Regions from separate parts of the Homo sapiens genome. Here region 2 is linked to region 1. The links are contacts of gene promoters, found by promoter capture Hi-C in blood cells and fetal thymus (Javierre and others, 2016). All regions are on one chromosome and are shown on one strand. The core of a region is centred on a gene start or on the middle of the fragment in contact, and the rest is flanking DNA. Distances in the headings are between cores, read along the strand shown.

What was found. The method cuts DNA at HindIII sites, captures the fragments that hold promoters and counts their contacts. A CHiCAGO score of 5 or more calls a contact.
Region 2: a contact is called between the fragment with the promoter of PGAM4 here and the fragment with the promoter of ATP7A in region 1, in 13 of 17 cell types (neutrophils, M2 macrophages, naive CD8 T cells and 10 more). The highest score is 9.0, in neutrophils.

Annotation. Positions count from the first base shown.
Region 1 is chrX:77,906,725-77,914,671 of GRCh38, reverse strand. It overlaps ATP7A (ATPase copper transporting alpha), which reads right to left and starts at 3,979. Exons shown (of 23, transcript NM_000052.7): 1 at 3,837-3,979. It overlaps COX7B (cytochrome c oxidase subunit 7B), which reads right to left. Exons shown (of 3, transcript NM_001866.3): 3 at 7,296-7,947. The HindIII fragment of the contact is 7,135 bases long and covers 2,120-7,947 here.
Region 2 is chrX:77,963,456-77,971,402 of GRCh38, reverse strand. It overlaps PGAM4 (phosphoglycerate mutase family member 4), which reads left to right and starts at 1,765. Exons shown (of 1, transcript NM_001029891.3): 1 at 1,765-3,454. The coding sequence starts at 1,765. The coding sequence ends at 2,529. All of the region lies in intron 1 of ATP7A (ATPase copper transporting alpha), which reads right to left. It also overlaps the pseudogene C4orf46P2. The HindIII fragment of the contact is 8,998 bases long and covers 1-4,983 here.

The DNA of each region.
Region 1 (7,947 bases), core at 2,730-5,229:
AGCACTTTGGGAGGCTGAGGAGGGTGGATCACTTGAGGTCAGTCAGGAGTTCGATACCAGCCTGACCAACATGGCAAAACCCCTTCTCTACCAAAAATACAAAAACTAACCAAGTGTGGTGGCGCGCACCTGTAATCCCCGCTACTTGGGAGACTGAAGCAAGAGAATCACTAGAACCCAGGAGGCGGAGGTTGCAGTGAGCCGAGATAGCACCACTGCACAGCACGATGCTGTCTCTACAAAAAGTTTAAAAATTAGCTGGGAGTGGTGGCACACACCTATAGTCCCAGCTACTCAGGAGGCTGAGGTAGGAGGATCGCTTGAGCCTGGGAGATCGAGACTGCAGTGAGTTATGATGGCGCCACTGCACTCCAGCCTGGGTGACAGAGCAAGACCCCATCTCTTAAAAATAATATTATTTAAAAAATAATAATTAATTAATAAATAAGTAGCTAGGCATGGTGGCATGCGCCTGTGGTTCCAGCTACTTGAGAGGCCAGAGGATCATTTGAGCCCAGGAGATTAAGGCTGCAGTGAGCTATGATTGTGCCATGGCACCCTAGCCTGGGCCACAGAGCGAGGCCCTGCCTCTAGAAATAAATACATAGATAAATAATAACAATAACATCTTTTAAAATAAAAATAAAATAAAATAAGGTTAATGGCCAGTCTAAAACAATATCCCTACAATGTGAAATAACCCATTTATTTCAACTGGTAAATTGTTAAAAATGCACTCCTGATTATAGGTCTGAAAAACTGGACTTCTACACTAGAGATTAATAGTAAAAATAAGTAAAACTCTTTTTTCATCCTTGAGACATAGCTGTATAATTTTAAATGTGAACAGAAAATATGGTACAAAGTACACATAACTGACTCAAAATGGGGTATTTTACCCTCATTTCCTTCAAGGAAAGAGGTATCTGTGAAAACTGATGTAGTCTACCAATATCTCATACATTTGGGCACAAAAAGATTAGGAAATCACTTCAATTTGCAAACAGTGCTGGAAAAAGTAAGAACATTTTATAAAATCAGAAACACAGGACCCTTTTACTTTAATGAAACACATTCTAAAGGAATTTTGATATTTTTCCTGCCAAACTATCTCAGCAAGTTAAGTAAGCAAGTAATATCACATTAAATCAACCTGAAGACTGAGATTTAAGAGGGAAAAACATGATTGCTGGGATGGTAGAGTGAACTAAAATACTCTGCCTAACCATTGCCTATCACTCATCTGTCCCCCAGCCTCCCCCTTGCCCCGGCCCCATGTTGAGCTATATCCTAAGAAATATCGTTGTCTAAAAACAAAACGCTAAAACCTGAACTGCCCTTTAACAAAGATGAATAGAAGGAATTTTGAGACAAAACTCCCAAATACTATTCTCATCTATGCTAGTGCTTCTATGAGTTCAGACAAAAATCTCTCCTTGCAATTTACTTTCCCAACTGGCAAATGAAGATTATTTTCACTCATCAGGATGTCCAAAGTCTTGATTAATAAAGTTTGCCAAGAGCTTTTAAATATATAGATAAAAGGAGTTATAACAAGGAATTTATTTTTTTAAAATGTATTTCCTTTAGCGCCCTCACAGAAGTGAAGGTTGTGGTGTGTTAGCTGGGGTTATTTTTGCACTCTTTTCTCTCTCTCTCTTGTTTTGTAAGCAAATTTTACTGCTTCTGCAAGCATTTTTCAAAGAAAATCAACCTTCTGCTTTAGAGAACAGAGATGTTAACCTATCCTTTGGAGGGATTAGTGTTTAACCTTATCTTGAGGGCAGGCATCAAGATCTTTCTAAGGCTGTGATCGGAATAGAATAGTTCCTATCAAGTTAAGAAGATCAATAGAGAGAAATCAATTTAGAGGAAAAAAGGAAAAGCAGAGATTCCTTGGGGAAAACCTGGAACAGTTGCTCACTTCAGAAAATGTTATTCATTCCCAACAATTTTAAAAATGATTCCAAATTATATTTAAGGCACAACACTCAATCAGAATTAAAGTATAGCGAGTTTTACATTTTTTCTCTTTTAGATTTGAGTTTACATCAGAATTAAGCCTCATACATTAACATTGCTTTTGTCATTTCCATGTATTTTTTTCTCTATATAAGCTTTCTTATTGGCTGGAGGGCAGTTGGATATGTTTGTGAGCTGACTAGTTTTGTATTCTATATTTTTTCTAATTTTAATCAGTGACATCTTGGAAGATGTGGCTGTTAGAAATAGGAATATTGACTTACAGTGTGTTACTGGATGTCGGGCAACTTTCCAGACCCCCATGGCTTTGCTCACATTATTTCTTCTATCTATCAGTCCAGATAGATGTCTTCCTCTTCCTCCATTCCTGCAAAGCTAAATCCTATCTATTTTTCAAAGCCCAGTTCACATGCTCCCTTCCCTGCACTCTCATAACACCTCCTGTTTCTAATATATAACGTTAGTGAGATTTTTTAAATGTTTAGGTAATCGTGTATCTTTCTTTCCTACTACATTGAGATCCTCAAGTACAAAAAAAACTCTCTCATGTCATGACCTTAGACACCAGAAAATGTTAAATATAATAAAATGCCAGTTCAAAAATAACCATTGAAAAGGATGTGATAAGCAACCTAGTAATTCAGTCAGTGGGGCTGCTAGAAACCGTTGTCTTCATAGCTGAATTCAACTGACTCAATTCGGACTCAATTGTATGTAAACTGTTTATTTTTCTTTCTTCTTTTTTGGAGACAGTTTCGCTCTTGTAGCCCAGGCTGGAGTGCAGTGGCACGATCTCGGCTCACTGCAACATCCGCCTCCCAGGTTCAAGCGATCCTCTTGCCTCAGTCTCCCGACTAGCTGGGATTACAGGCGCCCGCCACCACGCCCAGCTAATTTTTGTATTTTTAGTAAAGACAGGGTTTCGCCATGATGGCCAGGCTGGTCTCGATCTCCTGACCTCAGGTGATCCACCCTCCTCGGCCTCCCAAAGTGTTGGTATTACAGGTGTGTCAGACACTGCGCCCAGCCTACTGTAAGTAAACTCTTTTGAGGCCAGGAACTCTGTCTTATTTCTTGTGCATCACCCCCTCCCCACCACCCCCCCGCACCCGGCAAAAAAAAAAAAAAATTAATAACCTCAGTATCATCTAATTCAATGTTCTGCACATATTCTCAATACAAAGCCATACTATTGTAGATAAAGAGTCTGTGATTAAAATAAAGATCAGATCCTGGACAAACGCTGAATTGTGAAACGATAAGTGTTTGTGCTTAAGATAATCTCAACGTCTACAACGAAGAAAAGTGTCAAAGATAAGATGCCACAGGGTCGGACAATGGACAGTAACTTTACTGGAAAGGGGGCACAATGAACAAAACTAAGTGGAAACAAGAGTTCTCTCAGTTTACCTTACGCTCCCAGAGCAAGACAAGAAGCCAAATATCTATTTTTCAATTATTATTTCATCAATTATGGTCATTTTAGTAACCTTAGCTTCCAAAGTATAAAGAGGTGTCACTAAGCAAAGACCCCAGTCCATGTGACTTTCAATGCCAAACACAAACTTTCTTGTACCCTCAATTAATTGGGTAACGTAGGCCATGGATGATCAGGACATTCTCTCCAAGAGGGTACAAGAAAGTGACACAGGTCAGGATTTAATTTCCCCTCCTCTATCCCCTGTTAGGGGAGGTAAAACATAAATGTAGTTAATACCTGAATTGTGAATAAGTGAAACTTTCGAGACTGCCCCAGACTAACATGACCTTCTCACCACACTCGTAGTACAAACTGACAGCACAGAAGACCCCCTCCAGGAGAAAGGACGACGGGAAGCCAATGTAGGACTTACCTGGTTTCTCTATCCTATGGTTAAACCTCTGGAGCTACGCAGACCGTGGCAGCGATAAATCCACGTACGCAGGCTCCAACAAAGCTCACACAATCGGAGAAGTCACAGTAGCTGCGGCTGCGGCGGCGGCAGCAACAACTCCTCCCTCTGCTTCTCTTTTCCCACCCCCCGCCGCGGCGGCCAGCCGCCTTTACCCCTCCCTCCCTCGACTACCCCCACTTCCGGGTGATGCCCCTGCCGGAAGCAGGGCCGCCACGGGAAAGAGAGCGACTGGTCACGTGAAAAGGAACGCGTGGTCTAGAGCCAGCTTCTCCTGCCCCCTGCTGCCCCCGGGCCGACACGCAGCCTCGAGTGGGTCTTTGTTAGGGTACGAGTCCACTATCCCACCCCGCCCCCACGACAAAAGCGAAACCAGAAAACCCATACTAAAACAGTGCCTTTGTCATCTTTAGTTTCCTAACCTCAGGCCAAGATGTAACATAAAAGATCCTTATAAGTCATCTTCCACATAGTTCATCTTTGCCTAGCATGAAATTCACGTGCATCTGTTAGACTGTGTTAACTGCCAAGATGTAACATAAAAGCTCCTTATAAGTCATCTTCCACATAGTTCATCTTCGCCCAGCATGAAATTCACGTGCATCAGTTAGACTGTGTTAACTGCCAAGATGTAACATAAAAGCTCCTTATAAGTCATCTTCCACATAGTTCATCTTCGCCCAGCATGAAATTCACGTGCATCTGTTAGACTGTGTTAACTTGCTTCCCGTAGACTGTGTAGCCTAATTCCAGATGTAAGTGCCAGAACTATGAATTTATCCTCTTCCCTCCATTGAAAAATTACATCAAGAGGAAAATGTTTATAAATTCATAATTTTTATATGTGTGTTGAGGGGGTAGGGACGTCACTTCACCACCTTCATAGCGCCATTCCAAGCTCTGAACCACTCCCCCATTTATTCATTCACTCGTCCATCATTTTACACACCTAGAAGATTCCGGTGATGCAAAAGTGTTACAGTCTCTGTTACCATGAGTTCATTTAGAAATGAGATGCATAAAATGTAAACAATGCAATAAATGGTACAGAAAACATTTGAAAAAAGGGTCATTTTATTCTTGCTTTCCAACTTAACATTTTGAAAAGCAGCAAAATTCTAGGATTTTTAAAACTATGAACATTAACAGTAAAAAGAGGGAGAGGCTCCATCTCACTTATTTCAAAGCAAGATGTGGCCTTTTCATATTTCCTTTCATGAAGTATCTGTCATAAGATGTAGAACAAAACTAATCACAGGACTATTTGTATTTTCATCTGGAACCATTTGAACCCAGTTCCCACAGAAGAGTATGAAGCCTAATAATGTTGCAGAAATCAAAATAGTACACAAAATACAAATATCAAGTAAATATTTGTAAAAGACTTAGAACAGCGTCCGGCACAAAGTAAGCATATTTAAGTGTTGAAATAATTTCCATCCTAGCTGTTGTCAAGTCCCTATTAAGCCTTGACAGGCAACATTTAAAATTACCCATAGATCTACATTTTAGGTCTGTGATTAAGTATTTCAGAATTATTATCCCCCTCCACACTCATCCACATAAATATAAAATTAGCCTCAGGACTCATCTTCCCAGGCATTATTTTGTAGTTGTCAATGTGTGCAGCCTTAATTATTAAGATACAAACTCAGCCCCAAATTTAAAATCTTAAAAATCACATCATATGAAATGAAGATAGCTTTTAAGTGGGTTTCCAAATATTAGCAAGTTGGTTTGTAACTATATTAACATTGTGTTAAGCATCCAAAAGAAATTCACTAAAAGGCAAAACCAAAAATATATCTTTTTCAGAAGCAGAACATTGAATCTACTAGCTATCTAGTATTTTTATGTAAATACTAAAGTTTATCACTATGAGCTGCAAGATCCTCTGCCAACCATGTACATTCTTAGGCACTCTAATATTTAACATAAAAACCTAGAGAGCTATATATATATTTTGTTGTTGTTTGGTTTTGAGAGTCTTGCTGTCACCCAGGCTGGAGTGCAGAAGTGTGATCATAGGTCCTTGTAACCTTAAACTCCGGGGCTAAAGCGATCCTTGCACCTCAGCCTCCCAAGTAGTTGGAACTATGGGCACACACCACCACACCTGGCTAGTTTTTATTTTTTTGTGTGTGGAGATGGGAGTCTCCCTTTGTTGCCCAGGCTGGTCTCGAACTCTTGGCCTCAAATGATCCTCCCACCTCAGCTGCCCAAAGTGCTGGGATTACAGATATGAGCCACCAGGCCCAGCCTAAAACTCTTGTCTTTAAATGCATCATCCCTAATCCTCCTTACCAATGCACAAGCATAGAAGGGAATGTCTTCAAGAAATAATCAGGTTTGCTGGGGGTTGAGCAGACAGCAGGTGTCCCTAAAATGCTTATGAAGTGTATTAATAACCCCAGTGACATTAAGCCAGGAGGATGGGAACTCAACATCTGTACCTCTACAACTACCACAGTACCCGTGTCTAGGTAAGTTAAAATGAATCTAAAATAACAGAACACAGGTGCTACAATAATTCTGTCCTAGAGTGAAATTAAGAATGAGATTTATGAGGTTGGGCACCGTGGCTCACGACTGTAATCCCAGCACTTTGGGAGGCCGAGGCAGGTGGATCGCCTGAGGTCAGGAGTTCGAGACCAGCCTGGCCAACATGACAAAACCCTGTCTCTACTAAAAATATAAAAATTAACCAGGTGTGATGGTGGGCGCCTGTAATTCCAGCTACTTGGGAGGCCGAGGCAGAATCCCTTGAACCCAGGAGGCGGAGGTTGCAGTGAGCCAAAATCACACCACTGAACTCCAGCCTGGATGACAGAGCAAAACTCGGTCTCAAAAAAAAAAAAAGAATGGGATTTATGACATTAACCCTAATGTTAAAATATTTCACAGCCATCCAAATAGAGTTTAAAGGATTGGCAATGATTTTAAGGTAAGTAACTTACCTAAATTCTTCAGACTTACAGATACTTGAGGACAGAGGACTAATTTGACGACTTTCCAACTCTAGGTATGACTGAAACTCAAAGCGATGTTACGGGTAAGTTGAGAAAATTTGTGTGAAAGGATATTTTCATGGCTCTGAGAGCACTAGGAAAGCTCCAAGGTCAGTATATACTGTGATGGCACACACACACAAAAAACTGCTTCATTTCTAGTAGTGGTCATAAGTTTTAGAATTACTCATCAGGATAAGATTAACTACAAAATTAAGTTCAAAAAGTGTGTTCAAAGTTACTACCACCACCAGGTTTTATCACACAAAGCAACATATAATTTTGATCACAAATGGACACAGAAAACATTCTAAATTGTCATACAGATGACAACTATCACTTAGCTTAGTACAAACCATACTGAAACTGCTTCCACGTCGTGAGAAATAAGTGTTAATTCAGTGACAAAAAGGTATATAATTGAAGGTTGACACTTCCTTAAATACATGTTTATTTTACTTCAATATCGCTCAGGGTTGTATGTATTTGAATACTTCAGTACTATTTTGAACATTCTAAATATGAAATACCATAAAGCGTTCAAATTTATCAAACAGTGGTACAATATGGTTACTAAACTTGCAACTTAATTTACAATGACGTTCAATTTTTCCTCTTCAAATAAAATCACTGACTTTGGTCCATTTGATGAGAAACTAGGACATATGCCATGACAGCATACTTCTAGCACTCTATGTAATAAGCAAAAGATAATTTAGCTAATATAGACAGGTTACCTGACTGAAATTCTACTTTCTGCTTAATTGATCACGATCAAGAAAACTACAAAAAAAAAACAAAAAACAAAACAAAACAACTACCACAGACTACAGCTCTCAGCCAAGAAAGTAATGATATATAAGCCGGGCGCGGTGTCTCATGCCTGTAAGCCTAGCACTTTGGGAGGCTGAGGTGGGTGGATCGCCTGAGGTCAGGAGTTCAAGACCAGGTTGGCCAACATGGTGAAACCCCATCTCTACTAAAAATACAAAAATTAGCCAGGCATGGTGGCAGGCGCCTGTAATTCCAGTTACTAGGGAGGCTGAGACAGGAGAATCACTTGA
Region 2 (7,947 bases), core at 516-3,015, 59 kb before region 1:
TGGATATGCTAACTAAAAATAAAAATTTCAATACTTTAATACAAGTAACTAGCTTTCATAGAGTGCTTTCCTGATTACTAATGTTTCCCATACATAATCTCATTTAACATTTGTAAGTACGAATTAAGAACTAATCAAAAATGCCTCAAATCCTTACAACAGCCAACAAGGTCCCACATGATTTCCCATGCCTGTCCCCCTCAAGTTTACCTGGCCTCCTCTTCTACCACTCACCAAACCCTTCTCTGTGCCAGTCATACTGGCCTCCTGGCTGTTACGCATGCAAGGATGACTCCTACTTCAAGGCCTTATTTTAGCTATTCTCTTGCTTTGGGACTTTCTTCTTCCAGATAACTGCTTGGCTAACTTCTTTGTCTCCAAGTCTTTGTTCAAATCTAACCTTAATGAGGACTATGCTGACCACCCTATTTAAAACTGCAACCTACATCCCTTCCACACAAACATACTCTGATTCCCCTTACCTCTGCTTTTTCTTTTGTTTTCATAGAACGTACCACCTTCTAACATACTCCATAACTTGCTGATTTATTCTGTTTATTGCTTATTGTCTGCCTTCCTGTGGTGGTTTTAAAATACGCCCACAAATTCTTTGCTACTCCTTCCTTCAAGAGGTGGAATTTAATCCTTTCCCCTTCGGTGTGGCCTGAACTTAATGACTTGTTTCTTGTTTTTTGTTGTTGTTGTTGTTTTGGTTTTTGTTTTTGTTTTTGTTTTTGAGACTCAATTCTGTCTCGCAGGCTGGAGTGCTGTGGCACGATCTCAGTTCACTGCAACTTCCGCCTCCCGGGTTGAAGTGATTCTCCTGCATCAGCCTCCCCAGTACCTGAGATTACGGGCGCATGCCACCACACCCGGCTAATTTTTTGTATTTTAAGTAGAGACAAGGTTTCACCATGTTGACTAGGCTGGTCTCGAACACCTGACCTCAAGTGATCCACCCGCCTCGCCCTCCCAAAGTGCTGGGATTACAGGCATGAGCCACCACACCTGGCCTAATGACTTGTTTCTAATGAATAGACTACGGTAGAAGCGACAAGGTGTGACTTCCAAGACTAGGTCATAAAAAACATTGCAAGAGGAGAAAAAAGCATTGTGTTTTCCTTGTTGTCCTCTCTCCTGAATCACGCAATCTGGGGGAAGCCACCTACCAAGTATGAAGACATACAAGCAGCCTTATGGAGAGGTTCATATGGTGAGGAACTGAGGCCTCATGTCAAAAACCAGCAAAGACCTAAGGCCTCCCGCCAATAGCCAGGTAAGTGAACCACCTTGGAAACTGCTCCTTCAGACCTAAGTTAAGCCTTTAAACTACTACATCCCCAGACACCATATTGACTACAACTTCATGAGACACCCTGAGCCAGAACTACCCATCTAAGCTGCTCCCAAATTATTGAGTCATAGGAAATGTGAGATAATAAATGTTTGTTGCTTTAAGCCACTAAATTTTGGGGTTATTTGTTACACTGCAATAATTAAGTAATACACTTCCCACTAGAATAAAAACTCCATGAAGATAGGACTCTGTTTTTTCACTGATATTAGGCTGAACCACATGAAATCATCATAGTCAAACACCGGCAATTTCATATAAATCAATCTAATATATCCCATGGAAACAGTGGTTCCTCTGGTGAGGGGAAATGAGTGGTTAGGGAATAAGGGTGGGAAAAAGAATTTTCAGCGTATAACCTTTTGTACCTTTTACTTCAAATGGTATAAAAAGTATTGCAGCCCACCGCCATGGCCGCCTACAAACTGGTGCTGATCCGGCACGGCGAGAGCACATGGAACCTGGAGAACCGCTTCAGCTGCTGGTACGACGCCGATCTGAGCCCGGCGGGCCACGAGGAGGCGAAGCGCGGCGGGCAGGCGCTACGAGATGCTGGCTATGAGTTTGACATCTGCCTCACCTCAGTGCAGAAGAGAGTGATCCGGACCCTCTGGACAGTGCTAGATGCCATTGATCAGATGTGGCTGCCAGTGGTGAGGACTTGGCGCCTCAATGAGCGGCACTATGGGGGTCTAACCGGTCTCAATAAAGCAGAAACTGCTGCAAAGCATGGTGAGGCCCAGGTGAAGATCTGGAGGCGCTCCTATGATGTCCCACCACCTCCGATGGAGCCCGACCATCCTTTCTACAGCAACATCAGTAAGGATCGCAGGTATGCAGACCTCACAGAAGATCAGCTACCCTCCTATGAGAGTCCGAAGGATACTATTGCCAGAGCTCTGCCCTTCTGGAATGAAGAAATAGTTCCCCAGATCAAGGAGGGGAAACGTGTACTGATTGCAGCCCATGGCAACAGCCTCCAGGGCATTGCCAAGCATGTGGAGGGTCTCTCTGAAGAGGCTATCATGGAGCTGAACCTGCCGACTGGTATTCCCATCGTCTATGAATTGGACAAGAACTTGAAGCCTATCAAGCCCATGCAGTTTCTGGGGGATGAAGAGACGGTGTGCAAAGCCATAGAAGCTGTGGCTGCCCAGGGCAAGGCCAAGAAGTGAAGGCCAGCGGGGAGGATACTGTCCCCAGGAGCACCCTCCCTGCTGGTCTTGTCCCTCTGCCCCTCCCACCTGCACATGTCACACTGACCACATCTGTAGACATCTTGAGTTGTAGCTGCAGATGGGGACCAGTGGCTCCCATTTTCATTTTAGCCATTTTGTCGCCTGCACCCACTCCCTTCATACAATCTAGTCAGAATAGCAGTTCTAGAGCACAGGTTCTCAGTCTAAGCTGTGGAAAAGCTCCCCTTATCCAACAGAGTTTAAAAGTAGTGACTTGGGTTTTTGTGAGTGCTTTGTTTACTAAGGACTTTGGGGAGGAACATGCTAAGCCACGACCAATGAGGAGAAGCAACAGAGCCTGTCTGTCCCCATGAGCAGAGTCTGTCCTCTGCTCTTCTGCAGTCAGGCCACTGCCTGGGGGCTCTAGTCATTCCAGTGGAAGATGAATGTAATCTGCATGGTGATGTGACAACTGTTTCCTCCTTGACCCCAGAGGATCTGGCTCTAGGTTGGGATCAATCCTGAATTTCGTTATGTGTTATATTTACTTTTATTAAAAAAGTATAGTATATATTAATAATACAAAACAATAACCCTTCTGGGGTTTCTTGTGGCGGTTGAAATAGTCCCACATGTGGTCATCAGAAAATAAGCCATTCCTCATACCAATATAGGATCAGCTCCTTGACCTCTGAGGGGCAGGAGTGCTTCCTGGTGTGTGTATTAGAATCCCTTCCTGCCTTGTTTCATGGCAGTGAAATGCCTCTTGGTCCTGTCCAAGTGTGTCTTTCACTGATTTCTGAATCATGTTCTAGTTGCTTGACCCTGCCACATGGGCCCAGTGTTCATCTGAGCATAACTGTACTAAATCCTTTTACCAGATCAGTATAATAAAGGAGTGATGTGCAATTAAAAAAAAAAAGTATTACAACATCATTTTAGTTTTGGTGAGCTCAGAGAAACTTAAGCAGAAAATGCTGAACCATGCCCGCTGCTACTAACAAAGCAAGATGATTAATGGACTCTTGTAACTTCTCCAACTAATTTCTGTGGAGCTTTGAACAATTAGACCACCCAGTCTATGGTATTATGTTATGGAAGCCTGAACTAAGACATATGCATTCTTTTTTAAATTGGGATATAATTCACATGCTATAAAATTCAGCCTTTTAACCTACAGAATGGGAGAAAACATTTTGCAATCTACCCATCTGACAAAGGTCTAATATCCAGAATCTACAAGGAACTTAAACAATTTACAAGAAAAAAACAACCCCATCAAAAAGTGGGCAAAGGATATGAATAGACATTTCTCAAAAGAAGACATTTATGCGGCCAACAAACATATGAAAAAAAGCTCAACATCACAGATCATCAGAGAAATGCAAATCAAAACCACAATGAGATACCATCTCACACCAGTCAGAATAGCAATTATTAAAAACTCAGGAAACAATAGATGCTGGTGAGGCTGTGGGGAAATAGGAACGCTTTTACACTGTTGGTGGGAATGTGAATTAGTTCAACTATTGTGGAAGACAGTATGGCGATTCCTCGAGGATCTAGAACCAGAAATACCATTTGACCCAGCAACCCCATTACTGGGTACATACCCAGAGGAATATAAATCATTCTACTATAAAGACACATGCACACGTATGTTTACTGCAGCACTATTTACAATAGCAAAGACTTGGAACCAACCCAAATGCCCATCAATGATAGACTGGAGAAAGAAAATGTGGTACATATACACCATGGAATACTATGCAGCCATACAAAGGAATGAGATCATGTCCTTTGCAGGGATATGAATGAAGCTGGAAACCATCATCCTCAGCAGACTAACACAGGAACAGAGAACCAAATGCTGCATGTTCTTGTTCATAAATGGGAGTTGAACAATGAGAACACATGGACACAGGGAGGGGAACATCACACACCGGAGCCTGCTGGGGGGTGAGGGGTGAGGGGAGGAAACTTAAAGGATGGGTCAATAGATGCAGCAAACCACCATAGCACACATGTACCTACGTAACAAACCTGCACGTTCTGCACATCTATCCTGGTTTTTTTTAGAAGAAATGAAAAAAATTCAGCCTTTTAAGGTATCCAGTTCAGTACTTTTTAGTACATTCACAAGGATGTGCAACCATAATGACTATGTAGTTGCAAAACATTTTCATTACTCCAAAAAGAAATCCCATGTCCATTAGCAACACTCCCCATTTCCTCTCTACTCACAGCCCCTGGCAAACACTAATTTTATTTCCTATCTCTACGGATTTGCCTATACGGCCATTTCATATAAATTGATTCATTCAATATGTGTCCTTGTGTGTCTGGATTCTTTCACTTAGCATAATGTTTTCAAGGTACATTGATGTGTAAAATGTATCGGTATTCCATTCTTTTCACTTTCTTGATGGTGTCCATTGAATCACAAAAGCTTTTAATTTGTGAAGTCCAATTTATCTTTTTTCTTTTGTGTTTTTTGTGTCATATCTAAGAAACCATTGCCACATTCAAACTTACGAATATTTACTGCTATGTTTTCTTCTAAGAGTTTTTGTAGTTTTGGCTCTTATATTTAGGTCTTTAATCCATTTTGAGTTAATTGTTGTACATGGTGTATGGTAAGGATCTGACATACATTGTTTTACATGTGGATGTCCTGTTTTCCCAACACCAGTTTTAAAACATTCTTGAGATGTAGTTCACGTATTATATAATTCGCACATTTAAAGTGTAGAATTCAATAGTTGTTAGCATATTCACAGACATGTGCAACCATCACCACAGGCAATTTCAGAACATTTTCATCACCTAAAAACAACAACAACAACAACAAAACATACCCCTTACCTATCAGTCATCACCTCCTAAGCCTTCTGTCCTGGGCAACCACTAATCTACTTTGCTTGTATAGATTTTCCTCTTCTGGACATTTCAGATGAATGAAATCATGTAATATGTGGTCTTTTGTGACTGACTTCTTTCATGTAGCATGTTTTCAGTGTTCATCCATGTTACAGCACATATCAGTACATCATTCCCTTTTATGGCTGAATAATATTCCACTGCATAGATACACCATAATTTATCTATTTGTCAGTTGATGAACATTTGGGTTGTTTCCATCTTTTGGCTATTATGAATAATGCTGCTATAAACATTCATGTACAAACTTTTGTGTTTTCATTTCTCTTTGGTAATACCTAAGAGTAGACTTGCTGGGTCATATAATAACTCTATGTTTAATTGTTTGAGGATCTGCCAGACTGTTTTCCAAAGTGACTGTACCATTTATACTCCCATGAGCAGTATATAAGGGCCCCAATTGTTCCACCTCCGATACCTATTATCTTTTTTATTCTACCCATCCTAGCAGGTGTGAAGTGGTATCTCATTGTGGTTTTGATTCACATTTCTCTGATTACTGATGATGTCAAGCATCTTTTCATGTGCTTATTGGGTATTTGTATATCTTCGAAGAAATGTCTATTCAAGCACTCTACCCAATTTTTAATAAGGTTATTTTGTTGTTGTTGTTGAGTTGTAAGAGTTCTTTATATTCTTGGATATTAATCCCTTATCAGATATATGACTTTCAAATACTTTCTCCTATCCAGTTGGTTGTCTTTCACTCTTTTTTTTTGAAATAAAATTTGCTTTTAATAAAAATTTATTTTGTACATTTTTAAAATTGCAATTTTCAGGACATGTAAGAAAAATATTTTTCCTCATACTGAAATAAGCATATCTTTGGTATAGAAATCACACCCTGTGTGTGATCTTTTAACTTAAAAAAAAAAAAGTCCAGTGCTTTTACATTGTTGGCGGGAGTGTAAATTAGTTCAACCATTGTGGAAGACAGTGTGATGATTCCTCAAGGATCTAGAACTAGAAATACCATTTGACCCAGTAATCCCATTACAGGATATATACCCGAAGGATTATAAATCATTCTACTATAAAGACACATGCACATGTATGTTTATTGAGGCACTATTCACAATAGCAAAGACTTGGAACCAACCTAAATGTCCATCAATAACAGACTGGATAAAGAAAATGTGGCACATATACACCATGGAATACTCCGCAGCCATAAAAAAGGATGAGTTCATGTCCTTTGCAGGGACATGGATGAAGCTGGAAACAATAATTCTCAGCAAACTATCACATGAACAGAAAACCAAACACTGCATGTTCTCACTCGTAAGTGGGATTTGAACAATGAGAACACACAGACATAAGGAGGGAAGCATCACACACTGGGGCCTGTCGGGGGGTGGGGATTAGGCGAGGGATAACATTAGGAGAAATACCTAATGTAGGTGATGGGTTGATGGGTGCAGCAAACCACCATGGCACGTGTATACCTATGTAACAAAACTGCATGTTCTGCACATGTACCCCAGAACTTAAAGTATAAAAAAAAAAGTCCAGAACTAGACCTAATATGCTAAACAAAACTATTCTTTGGCCATCCATCTGCAGCCTTTCAATGCACCATTGTGGAGCTTCAGAATATCATTCTGTACACATCACCATATCTACAAAGAATTAAGATGTCATATCAAAGATATCCAGAAGTTATATATGGTACAGAATTAGTTGGCTTAATCATTCACACATAATACAAACTACCAAAAAGCGACATAAGATACAGAACAAATAAAATAGGACATTGTCACTAAGGTCAAATAATATAAAAACAATCATGTTATTTAAATTTGATGTATTGGAAGCAAAGTAACTTAGAGTTATGTAAATAACTTGTAAAGCTCCAAAATTCATAGTACAGAGCCATAAATCTGATAAGGCACTTTAAAGACAGCAATCAAACATATAAAAATACCGAAAACAAAAAATATTAAGTGTAAAAGCAGTAACCATAGAAATAAATAGGAAAAAAAATTCGTTCTTTCTAGACAGTCTTTCATTTTCTGAAATAAAGACTTCTTAGCTGGGTGCAGTGGCTCACGCCTGTAATCCCAGCACTTTGGGAGGCCGAGGCGGGTGGATCACTTGAGGTCAGGAGTTCGAGACCAGCCTGGTCAATATGGTGAAACCTTGTCTCTACTAAAAATACAAAAAATTAGCCGGGTATGGTGGCACACGCCTGTAATCCCAGCTACTAGGGAGGCTGAGGCAGGAGAATCACTTGAACCCAGGAGGCAGAGATTGCAGTGAGCCAAGATCGCACCACTGCACTCCAGCCTGGGAGACAGAATGAGACTCTGTCTCAAAAAAAAAAGACTTTTTAAAATAATCATTTGAGGACAAAAGTATTTATCATGTTTTTAAAAGCTATCATCAAAGTTAAAATCTCTGTGAAAAAGATAACATTTTCCTTCAAGTCAACAAAGTCCTGATTCATACATTTTTAGAGAAACAATTATAGTCTTC